2 separate regions of the Homo sapiens genome follow, and region 2 is linked to region 1. Evidence: promoter capture Hi-C in human tissues and cell types (Jung and others, 2019). All regions are on one chromosome and are shown on one strand. The core of a region is centred on a gene start or on the middle of the fragment in contact, and the rest is flanking DNA. Distances in the headings are between cores, read along the strand shown.

Region 1 (5,901 bases), core at 1,822-4,321:
CTCTGTCTTTCAGGTTCAAGCGATTCTCCTACCTCAGCCTCCCAATTAGATGGGATTACAGGTGTGTACCACCAAGCCCAGCTAATTTTTGTATTTTTAATAGAGAGGGGGTTTCGCCATGTTGGTCAGGCTGGTCTCAAACTCCTGGCCTCAAGCAATCCTCCTGCTTGAGGCCTCTCAAAGTGCTAGGATTATAGGCAGGAACCACCACATCAGGCATTTGCATATTATAAACAATTATAAGAAAAATGGGTGGCTCACGCCTGTAATCCCAGCACTTTGGGAGTCTGAGACAGGAGGATCACTTGAGTCCAAGAGTTTGAAATCAGCCTTGGCAACATATTGCCGAAATTACTTTTGCACCAACCTAACAGTTAGACCGTTGTCTTTGCAAAACAAACAAACAAGCAAACAAACAAAATTAGCCAGGCATGGTGGTACAGCCTGTGGTCCCCAGCTACTTGGGAGGCTAAGGTGAAAGGATTTCTTGAGCCCAGGAGGTTGAAGCTGCAAGTGAGCCATGATGGCCTCACTGAACTACTCTGGGTGACAGAGACAGGGATACCCTGTTCTCCCTTGCACGACCTCACCCCCACCCAGCCCTGCCCTGCCGAAACACACACACACACACACACACACACACACACACACATACACCAGAGAGAGAGAGAGAGAGGGAAATGCATGAGGTTAACTTTATGAAAAAATATAGTTCCCCAACCAAGTCTCTTTGTAATTTGATGGTGGAGGTTAATTGCCTATCTAAACAAAGTGTGTGAATTGATGGTGGGGGTCTAGTGGAAATTTAGAAAGGGAGAGTTCTATAAACAAACTTTGATGCTTCCGTACCCAAGTATCTATTGAAACATACTATATGGAGGGAAAAAAATCGGGGATAATTTGGCCAGTTAGTGAAGAACATATCTAAGATTCAAATACACTACACCATTTTGCTTCACTGAAAATGTTGCATAGCTTCATTCAATTCATTACCTTAGCAAGTATTTATTAAATGCCTTTTATGCTCAAGGCATTTTGCCAAGGGCACTGTGGGATACATGATTAATCAGACGTTTTGGAGTAATGGAAAGAGATGTACTTTGGCATCATACTGATGAGTTTGAATTCCAGCTTCTTGGAAACATTACTCTTTTAACTGCAGTTTTTAAGTTTGTAAAATGAAGCAGTTAGAAAAAGGAAATGCATCTCTTGGTGACCAGCACACAGGAGGTGCTCAATAAATTGAGTTTTTCTCTCCCCAACTCCACTTTGAGGCATTTGCTAGAAGGTAAGTGATCAGGGAATTCACCATAGAAAGGGAGGGTGATTGGTTTAGGTCATGAGATGGATTTAGACTGGTCAAGAAGTGAGAGACAGTAAAGGTAGTAAGTGTGTGGACTTTACTAGATCTTGTGAGTAGATCTTATCTAAACGTGCCGGCACACGTTTACAGAGAGGGGGAAAAGCAGGAGCTGTAACCATCAGGTTGCCTGCTATTTTAGTCCACTCGGGCTTCTATAATGAAATATCATAAACTGGGTAGCTTATAAAAAGAGAAATTCATGTCCCATAATTCCAGAGGTTGGGAAGTTCAAGATCAAGGCAGATGTGGTATCTGATGAGAGTCTACTTTCTAGACAGCAGTCTTTTTACCATAACCTCACTTGCTGGAAGGGGTGAGGGATCTTTCTGAGGTTTCTTTTTTTAAAAAAATTATTTATTTAATGTATTTAACTAACAAATAATAATTGTATGTATTTATGAGGTATCATGTTACATTTGTATGTGTCGTGAAATAATTAAATCAAGTTAACATATTCATCACTTTAACATGATTTGTCCTGAATGGAATCCCATTCATGAGGGCTCCACCCTTATGATCTAATCACCTTTCAAAGGCCCAACCTTCTAATATTATCAACTCCAGCTTTAGCATTTTAACACTCAGTTGGGGGTATAATCCTAGCACTTTGGGAGGCCCAGGCGGGAGCTCAGGAATTGGAGACCAGCCTGGACAATATAACGAGATCCCGTTTTTGCTAGGCATAGTGCCGCTCCCCTGTGGTTCCAGCTACTCGGGAATCTGAGGTAGGAGGGTAGGATGATCACTTGAGCCCAGGAGGTGGAGGCTGCAATGAGCCAATGGTGCCACTGCACTCCAGCCTGGGTGACAGAGTTAGATCCTGTTTCCAAAACAAAACAAAACAAAACAAAACAAAACAAAACACCACAACATTCAGATCATAGCATCTGCCTACTTGTAAAATCGCCTTTCAGTGCAGTGTTGGTTCCTACAAACATACAATATAATGACTTTAGCTTGAAATTAAGGCATCTTCTCTGACTGCATTACAAACAGGCAAGTTTTTTCATATCGATTCACTCAACACCTTTTATTTATCCAGATAATATCTAGGATCACGCTTAATATCTAAGTGCTAGAATCTAATTATATAGATATCAAAAGGCATTAAGTTTTTCAGAAGACAGACATACAATTTTAATGTTTAGAGGTGATAGAGACACCTATAGCAGCACCAAAGAAGAAACGATTTTCCATTTAAGATTTTAGGCAGTTTAACTCTAAAATATGAAAATAGGCACATCTCACAGACTATAAAACTATACGCCATTTTAATTTTTACAATGTCAATTCTAACTGCGAATTTTAGCAACGCTTCAGTGTGAAGACAGCAGAGAAAAACACTGAAAATGCGTGATTGAATTCTTATTGAGTCACTCTTCTCGGAAATCAGTCCTCCCCATTTTCTCCTTAAAAAATAGAATCCTGGAGATAGTCTAGTGCTGGCTTTTCGAGGAACACACTACAGGGGACACAAGGAGAGGAACACGGATGCCGCAGTTTTCCAAGTGCAGCTTGCCCCTCCCACGTGATAGGTTTCTGGCATCGCCCCTCCTTGCTGGCGATTCTGGGGAAGATTTTAACGCTCCCTGGAGCCGTCCCCAGTGACGTCACGGGCGCGGCTCCGCTCCTTGGCCAATCACGCGGCCGGATCCCGGGGAAACCCGGGGCGGTGGCGGCGGCCTGGGCGCGTGCGCGAGGTCTCCGCGTGGCTATATAAACATGGCTGGCGTGGCCGCGCGGCGGGGCCGTGCCAATCGCGCGTAGGGGGCTGTGGGCACTCGGGGTTCGTAGTTTTGAAATTTCTGGCGGGGGAGCAGCTGCGCAGTTAGGCTCGAGGTGTGAGCGACGACCTTCCGGGAGCCGCAAGTCCAGGCTCCCCCGCAGCGGGACCCGAGCCTGAGGCGCAGGGCTGAGGCAGCGCACGTGTGAGCGCCGCTGAGGAAGCTGCGAGAGGTCGGGCGGGTGTCGCTCCGGGGGCAGCCCAGGCTCGCGCGGACGAGAGGAAGGTCCGGGACGCGCGTGTCCTGCCGTGCAGCGGGCGCCCGTCACTGACTTCGCTGCTGCGGCCCCCGCGCCTCTCCCCAGCGATGCTGTGGAACCCGAACCGCACCGGAGTCGGCTGCCGCGCGCCAAGCCTCCCCTCACCTCTGCTCCCGGAACCGCAGCGCCAAAGCTGCCGCTGAGCCCCTGGGGGATGCCCGCCGGCCTCACCGAACCCGCCGGCGCCGCTCCCCCGGCTGCTGTGAGCGCCTCGGGGACCGTGACCATGGCCCCGGCCGGGGCGCTGCCGGTGCGGGTGGAGAGCACTCCGGTGGCCCTGGGCGCCGTGACTAAGGCTCCTGTCAGCGTCTGCGTGGAGCCCACGGCGTCCCAGCCCCTGCGGTCCCCCGTGGGGACCCTGGTGACCAAAGTGGCTCCGGTCAGCGCCCCTCCTAAAGTCAGCAGCGGCCCTAGGCTGCCTGCTCCTCAGATAGTCGCCGTGAAAGCCCCCAACACCACGACAATCCAGTTTCCTGCTAATTTGCAGCTTCCTCCAGGTATGTTGATAACCCTTTCCAGCCTTGTCTGTCGGTCCAGCTGGCGGCGACGGGAAAATTCGCAGCTCCAGATTGCTCCTAAAAAAACTGAGCCACGGGAACATTTCATAATCTTGACTTTACAGTTAACATATTCTTTTTGTGTCATTACTACATAGTTTTTCTTTTCATATTTAAGGAAAGAATCTTTTCACCTAAGTGATACAGTAAAAAGCTACATCAGCGTATTCGGGGGGGCTTTCAGGCACTGGCTCTTAGGTGGAGGAGATAATATAGCCGAAGTTAATTTCCATGTGGAGGATGGACCGGTTTATACCGTGGATTTCCATACGCTTAGATTATGTAGAAGTGCGTTGTACTTATTTTATTAATTATGAATGAATGAATGAACGAATGAGGTATGGTTTCGCTCTGTCGCCCAGTCTGGAGTGCAGTGACACGATCATGGCTCACCGACGTCGAACTCCTGGGCCCAATCGATCCTCCCGCCTCGGCCTCCCAAAGTGCTGGGATTACAGGCGTGAGCCACCGCGTACGGCCTAACAGTGAAGTTCTTGTGTATTACAACTGAAAGAGATTTTTAAATTTAACCAAGTCAGAATCGGTTTACTGCTTTCTAGTACCAAGTACGAATAATGCTGTTCCTGCACAATCTTTAAATGTCTTATGATTCTAACTTTCAATTAGCAGAACCCCTGACTGGGAACACGTGCCACAGTTGACAAACAGATCAGTCATGCAATTGTTACAGTTGCAATTGAAGCCATGTGTCAACGCTACTGTTAATGAGTCTTTCACTACTTTCTATCCTAGGGCTTTTTACTCTATTGGGCTGTATTTCATGGTTTGTATAAAGGTTTTGCTTTGTGATAATTTACATATTGTAAATATGCTGAATGATTTTGGGGTGTTCAGCCTTTCTTTACTGAAAGTCTCTTGGAGTTTGCTTTCTGTTAATTTTGTTTAGCAGTAATTGGAACTCTGAACTGCAAAGATGGTAAAAAAGGGGAAGCATTGATTCAAAAGATTCTATATCCCCTAATAAAATGACAGGGACCCTTTTTGTATCTAATGTTGTAGTTAGTCATACACGTTGTGGATAGATTTCACTTTTTATGAAGTTCTGTTTCAGTTTTATATGGTATACAAGGTATGTAAAATTGTTAAGGCACTGTTACGGCAGTGTGCAGCACCGAATACATTATTTGGCAGTTCTAAATTGTTATTCTGAGTTGTTATTCTGCATATATGTTTATAAAGTAGTTCTGAATGTGTTAGAATGAAATTACCCCCTAATTTGTTAAACTGTAAATCCTGTCTAGTCACTGAAGTTTGTTTATAAATAGTCAAAAAAAAAAAGTATTAAGAAAGAACTGTCTGAGAGGCTAAGGCACGAGAATCGCTTGAACCCGGGAGGTGGAGGTTGCAGTAAGCCAAGATATCTTGCCACTGCACTCCAGCCCAGGCAACAGAGTGAGACTCTGTTCCTCCCCATCCCTCCCCAACCCCCCAAAGAAAGAACTGTCAAGAGTGAAAATTTGCTGGTAAGTGAGAGTGAATCACTTACTGGAGGATTGGGGCCTTATCATGCTAAGCACTTTTAACAAATTATTTATATTCTTTTATTTGTTGGTCATAATAGGTAGGTAGCAAATAAGGAAAGAGGTCTCTAAGAGTAAATAATTTGTCCAATGCCAGGCAACCCATAGGTGTCGGGGGAGTTTTAGCTCAGGTCTGTTTATTCTTTCCACAACGCTATGCTTATTTTTTTACTTGTATGTGTACGGTATGCCTCATTGAGTGTCAGTACTGAAAGGTGATTCAGAGAACTTTAGATTCCAGTCTTTTATTTTATATACCAAGGAACCAAAACTGAAACTTGGCAGAGTTAAAATAATAGCATACTAGGACCATAGTCTAATTATGTTCCTAGCACTGTATTAAAACATTGCATGCTATTTACCTCTGAGAAACCCATACAAAAGAGAGAAAGAAGAT
Region 2 (5,901 bases), core at 1,302-3,801, 44 kb after region 1:
GGACTTTCCTGGGAAAGTTACCTTTGGGCAAGGTGATCCTCTGCAGCTGAGGGAAGCCTGATGGAACTTATAAATGGAGGCTGTCTAATATCATTCCTAGCAGCTAGCTAGGACAGTACATATCACTCCTTGTCATGGTTCATCACAGGCTACTCCTTGCATCACTTGTATGTGTTTCCTCATACATGTTGGAGATCAGCTGTTCTGGGATTCTCATGGTTTTCGTCTTTGGGGAAACAAAGAGGAGGCTAATACGATGAACTACAGTCCCCACTGCTGCAGCTGGTTTCTGGTGGCACCTGATATTAATTATTTCCCTCTTCCACTGTGCCTTCCTAGATTCCCTTCCCCTCAACTACCAACTATACTGGTCTTTGTTAACTTAAATGATAACGACCAGACCCTCATCCCTGAGGGATCTGTGGTCTTAATAACCATGTTCATTTGAGGTCAGGGTTGCTACGGCTTGTCTATTTATCATCACAATTGGGCAAGGAAATACAAGGAGGCATTTAAGTGAATCACCTGAATCATGTGGATTTGCCACACATACTTCTTTTTGCCTCCATTGCGTAATAGCAACCCTACCTCCTCCAGATGATGGGAGTCGATTACTCTTCCTAAGATAATTACTCCTGTCTTTCCTGCTGGATCATGGTTACAAGGAACCATAGTGCAGCCATAGTGTCTATTTTATTTATTTTTTATTTTGTTTTGTTTTATTTTATTTTATTTTTGAAGACAGAGTCTCACTCTATCACCTAGGCTGGAGCACTGTGGTGCAATCTTGGCTCACTGCAACCCCTACTCCCTGGGTTCCAGTGATTCTCCTGCCTCAGCCTCCCAAGTAGCTGGGATTACAGGTGTGTGCCACCATGCCCAGCTGATTTTTTGTATTTTTAGTAGGGATGGGGTTTCACCATGTTGGCCAGGCTGGTCTCGAACTCTTGACCAAGTAATCCGCCTACCTCAGCCTCCCAAAGTCCTGGGATTACAGGCATGAGCCACCGCACCCGACTCTTAGTGTCTGTTCTTAGTGTCTATTTACAGGAACTCTTGCTTTGTCCTCTGGTAGAGGTGTTTGCTTCCTGTGGGCAGAAATGGGAAACACAAAGTCCTCCAGTGAGTGTTTGTTGTGAGTGATGGTAAGTGGGGGCCATTCATGCTTCTTCTCCTTGATTCCTTGATCTATGGGTTTGTCCTGTTGGGGACATAGTACTATATGGAAATTTTTGATTCAATGAGTATGCTGAGTCTTGGAGGATGGAATCCCATACTCATAGAGTATTGCCTCTATGTTTGTACTTCACCTGTACCTCTTGCTGGCTGTTCTAATATTTTACTAGACTCCTAGTTTCCGAGTCAAGACATATGTGATGAAACCAGTGGATCTGATAGTCCTGGGACTATGCATCTTCTTGGAGCCTGCTACCTGGAATCCCATGCTAGTAGATCAGACCTTCTTTTGGTGTTCCAAACTTGAACCATACTGCTCACGTTCTTTTCATCTAACAGAAATGATGAGCAGTGAATCTGATTTTAAACGTAATATTTTTCTACTAATACCATTTGTTGTCACTTAACATGCTTGACACTTTTTTAGGTGCCTTACATTCATCTCATTTCATCCTTGTGACTATACTATAAGGAAGTGTTATCTCTATTTTATATGAGAGGTTAAGAAGCTTGCTTGATTTCTGCTAGTATGTGGCAGAGTGAGGATTTGAGCCTTTATCTGACTCTGGAAACTGTTCTTAATGACCTATGTACTGATTATCTCAAAACCTACTGTATTTTTTTCCTTAGGATAAATTTTAAGGAGATTATTGGGCCAAAGAATATAAATTTAGGCCTATTGATAGCTACTATCATATTGTTTTATGAAGAAGTTAACCACTTTAGACTATCAGTACTTCGAGTATATCAGTTTTTCATTGGATATAGTTCTTAAAGATTGAGTACATAAATAACACCACAGGTTAAAAAAATATATTGTGGAGAGAAAACATACTTAGCAACATGATCTTAGATACTTAAGACTGCCATTTGCACATTATGGCTCTTCAGGACACAGAGAGCAAATTATGTTGTGCTGGGATAACTGAAGGAACTCCATTACACTACTTCTTCAGGGCCCTTTTGGGAGCCAGTTTAGTGGTAAAGTGAGTTTCTTGGATATTACTTCTTAGAGTGTATTAGGGATTCTCTACATCCATGGGCTTTAATTTGTCCCCTGCCAGCTACAGCCACAATTCTATTTCTGTGCTCTCTGAATATTCGTTGAAGTCTTAATAGTTCTAGAACATGAAAGCTTGTGTTCATTTACTTAGTAATCATAGCCAGTGATCACTAATTATATTTGTAGTTTTTAAAAAAATTACTTTATTTAAAAAATAGAGATGAGGTCTTACTCTGTTGCCCAGGCTGTTCTTGAACTCCTGGGGCTCAAGCAAATCCTCCCGCCTCTGCCTTGCAAAATGCTGGGATTATAGGCATCAGCCATTGCACCCAGCCTTTATTAGTAGTTTTTATAAAAGAGACAACCTGGAGCCTGTGAATTCAGGTGAAGGGGAAAATCTTTACTAAGCTTAAACTAAAACTTAGAGTTTCTTGCAACTATGAATGTAGGCTTCAAACTATGGAACCATTTTGAGGGGGAAAATCTTTACTAAGCTTAAACTAAAACTTAGAATTTCTTTCAGCTACAAATGTAGGCTTCAAACTACAGAACCATGGAGTATTACATTGTGTTAGTACATATCTGTGACTTTGTCACAATAGAAATAATTGAAATTTGTATGTTTCCTCGTGTTTGTAGTTATTTTAAAATGCTCATGTTAATCTGTCATTGATATTTTTGTGTGGACCATTTATTTTTCTTAGCTAATTTAGGTTGATGCATATTTTAAGTTGGGCTACTCCTTAGTGGTAGCCTAGAACAGTGGAAATTAGTAAAGAATGAAGTTAATGATATCTGTCCACTTTAAGGGATAAGCATCTCAGTTTTAGGCATGGAAATAAGGAGCTAGAACTTAAAAATGAGAGAAGATACAACTCCTTGTACTTGATTGTCAGACTGTAAATGCAAATGTGTGTGTTAAGAAATTTTGAAAGTATTTTCCTATTAGGCTTAGTCTGATAAATATAACACAAGAACTAGTTAGAAATCTTGTGTTCACTTTTACCTTGTATTTGATGAAGATGTAGTTTGGCCCATTGTTAGATTGGAATCTAATGTGCAAATGACTAGTATTTCTAATTAAATGTGAATAAACCTAAAGCAATTGCTGTTTCAGACAGGTACAGAAAATGACCCTCCTTGAAATGCTATTTCATCTTCTAAATTTCCATACAACTCATTTTATTGGCTCTGTGTAGAATTGGTTTTCACACATTTATTTCACATATACTTCAGTCCGTTTTCCTCCTGTCCTCAAGACATGCCTAGTCAGTCAGTGCAGCCTTGAAAAGCATTGAAGTTACCATTGGCTGGTCTGTTGAGTCAAAGGCGGAGTTGTGATTGAGTTTAAGACACTTTGGGCCAGGCATGGTGAGTCACACCTGTAATCCCAGCACTTTGGGAGGCCTAGGCAGGTGGATCACCTGAGGTCAGGAGTTTGAGACCAGCTTGGCCAACATGTTGAAACCCTGTCTCTACTAAACATTCAAAAATGAGCCGGGTGGTGTGGTGGGGGGCGGCTCTCATCCCAGCTACTCAGGAGGCTGAGGCAGGAGAATCACTTGAACCCAGGAGGCGGAGATTGCAGTGAGCCGAGATCGCACCACTGCACTCCAGCCTGGTGGACAGAGCCAGACTCCGTCTCAAAAAAAAAAAAAAAAAGACACTTTTAAGGGTGAGGGGGAATGGAATTTATTAGGCGAAAAGAAAAAAAAAACTCAGCAAAGCCAGAGGGGTTCCCGTTAGCAGGCCCCCATCTCACAAATTGAATCTCGGGTCACCACACAGGAACAGGAGAGGCCAGGCTCCTCCCCCTTGCAAAGGGCCTGATCTTCCTGAGGCTCCACCCCTCCTCCTCCCAGTGGGCAGGCGCGTGGGGGATTCTTCTGGAACCTTTCCCCTAATCTTCCGGTTGCGTCTATCAAGATCATCAGGCATTAGATTCTCACGAGGAGAGTGCAGCTTAAATCACCTGCATGTGCAGTTCACGAGAAGGTTCATGCTGCTATGAGACTAATGGCACCGCTGGCCTGACAGGAGGCAAAGCTCAGGCAGTAATGCTCACTTGCCTCCTCTGTGTGTCTCTATTCCTGACAGGCCACAGACCTATACCCGCCCGCGGCACAGGGGTTGGGGACCCCTGTGGTAAGATACAAGTAGTAGCTATACTAGAAAGTGTTATGAAGGACAGATTTTTTTTTTACTGGAGACAGGATAAAACATTGACAAGGAAAATAGAATTCCATAAATGCCCCCTCTACTTGTAAACGATAGGACGTTTTTCCTAAACTCACATTTCAGTTGGACCTTAGTTTGCTTCCTGAGGGAGGGGGACAGTACACCCCCAAGGAACCTCTCCCATCAGTCCTCAGAGGTGATCATAACCACCAGCTAAAATTCCAGATTACACTTTCTTAAATATGGCAGTACAGAGAGTTAATGACTGATTATAAGATAGACTAAAGAAAGAGGCTTATTTACTGTATAGAAAACTAAAAATTTATTAGAAAATCTCCACAAGAATTCAGAAGAAACTGAGTGGTAGGTTGGAGAGCAGGACTAAAGATATGAAAAGGAGGGAGACTTCCTTTTGAATGTGCATTTGAGGCTCTATATTTAACAAAATTGTACTAACTTAGGTGTAATTTTTAATTTTATCTCTTTTGTTAAAAACTTTATTGTTCTAGTCCTCATCATTAATCAGTAATTTTAAAATCTTATTAAAGTTTTTGCCAGGTGAGCCTTTAGTTTACTTTTCTTTTATTATCCTTATTCAATATTGAAATATGTTACAGACCTTTCTCATAAAATGAACTGAACAGCTTTCCCTATTCTGTTTTTCTAGAACATGTTGTATAAGACAGGAGTTATGCAAAAGTGTGGAAAAATCACATGGAAAATATCTGAGCCTGGAGACTTGAGGGAGGGAGGTCTTTTTGGGTATCATTTCAATGTCTTTAATTTGTCTATTCTAGTTTCTGTGTTTTGTGCTAATTTTGTCATTTCATGTTTTTCCAAAAACCCTTTTGGTTTTGTTTCAAATGTATTAGCATATGGTATTTAATATTTTTATTATGCATTATGAAATATACATGCAAACAAGACTACATGTGATATGTACACATATGTAATATGTACACATATGTAATATGTCTGCTGTTGAAAAAAATAATAGTAAAATGAAGGCCCATATACCCCAAACCCATGTTAGGGCCACCATGTGTCCCCACTCCTCTCCTTCTATCAATTCTCAGCATTTTAAATGTTCTTCCTGTTTGTAAAGAAAATTTTTTTCTAGAGACAGGGTCTTGTTAGGTTACCCAGACTGGTCTCGAACTCCTGTCCTCAAGCAATCCTCCTGGCTCAGCCTTCCAAAGTGCTGGTATTGTAAGTGTGAGCCACTGCACTTGTCCTTCTTCCCATTTTTTACCCTCAGAACATTCTTGTCTAGTACATATTCCAGTCTCTCTAATGTGGGAGATTTTATTGTACATTCAAATTCACCTATCTTGACTATTATAGAAGGAAATTTTCTTGAAGGTGATTGCAACTTGACCTTTTTGTGTTGCATGCTTGTAGAACATAGACATTTAAATTAAATGATGGTGCATTGTTCAGTTTTCTGTGTGAATTGTATGTAAATACTATTCCTTATCCCTGATCCCCAAACTTTTATTATGTTCTGTAACTTTTAGTGTTTGTCTTTAAGATTGTTGCTTTAT

What was found. The method cuts DNA at HindIII sites, captures the fragments that hold promoters and counts their contacts. A contact is called where the count stands out against the background at its distance.
Region 2: a contact is called between a fragment that was not itself captured here and the fragment with the promoter of TAF4B in region 1, in 5 of the 25 tissues and cell types used here (bladder, mesenchymal stem cells, mesendoderm cells and 2 more).

The regions. Positions count from the first base shown.
Region 1 is chr18:26,223,374-26,229,274 of GRCh38, forward strand. It overlaps TAF4B (TATA-box binding protein associated factor 4b), which reads left to right and starts at 3,072. Exons shown (of 15, transcript NM_005640.3): 1 at 3,072-3,903. The coding sequence starts at 3,561. RefSeq lists enhancers at 2,702-2,771, 2,802-2,901 and a silencer at 3,552-3,711. The HindIII fragment of the contact is 12,633 bases long and covers 1-5,901 here.
Region 2 is chr18:26,268,103-26,274,003 of GRCh38, forward strand. The region is part of intron 3 of TAF4B (TATA-box binding protein associated factor 4b); the gene reads left to right. Among named protein-coding and RNA genes, the nearest start is that of TAF4B, 45 kb to the left of the region's middle. The HindIII fragment of the contact is 4,978 bases long and covers 63-5,040 here.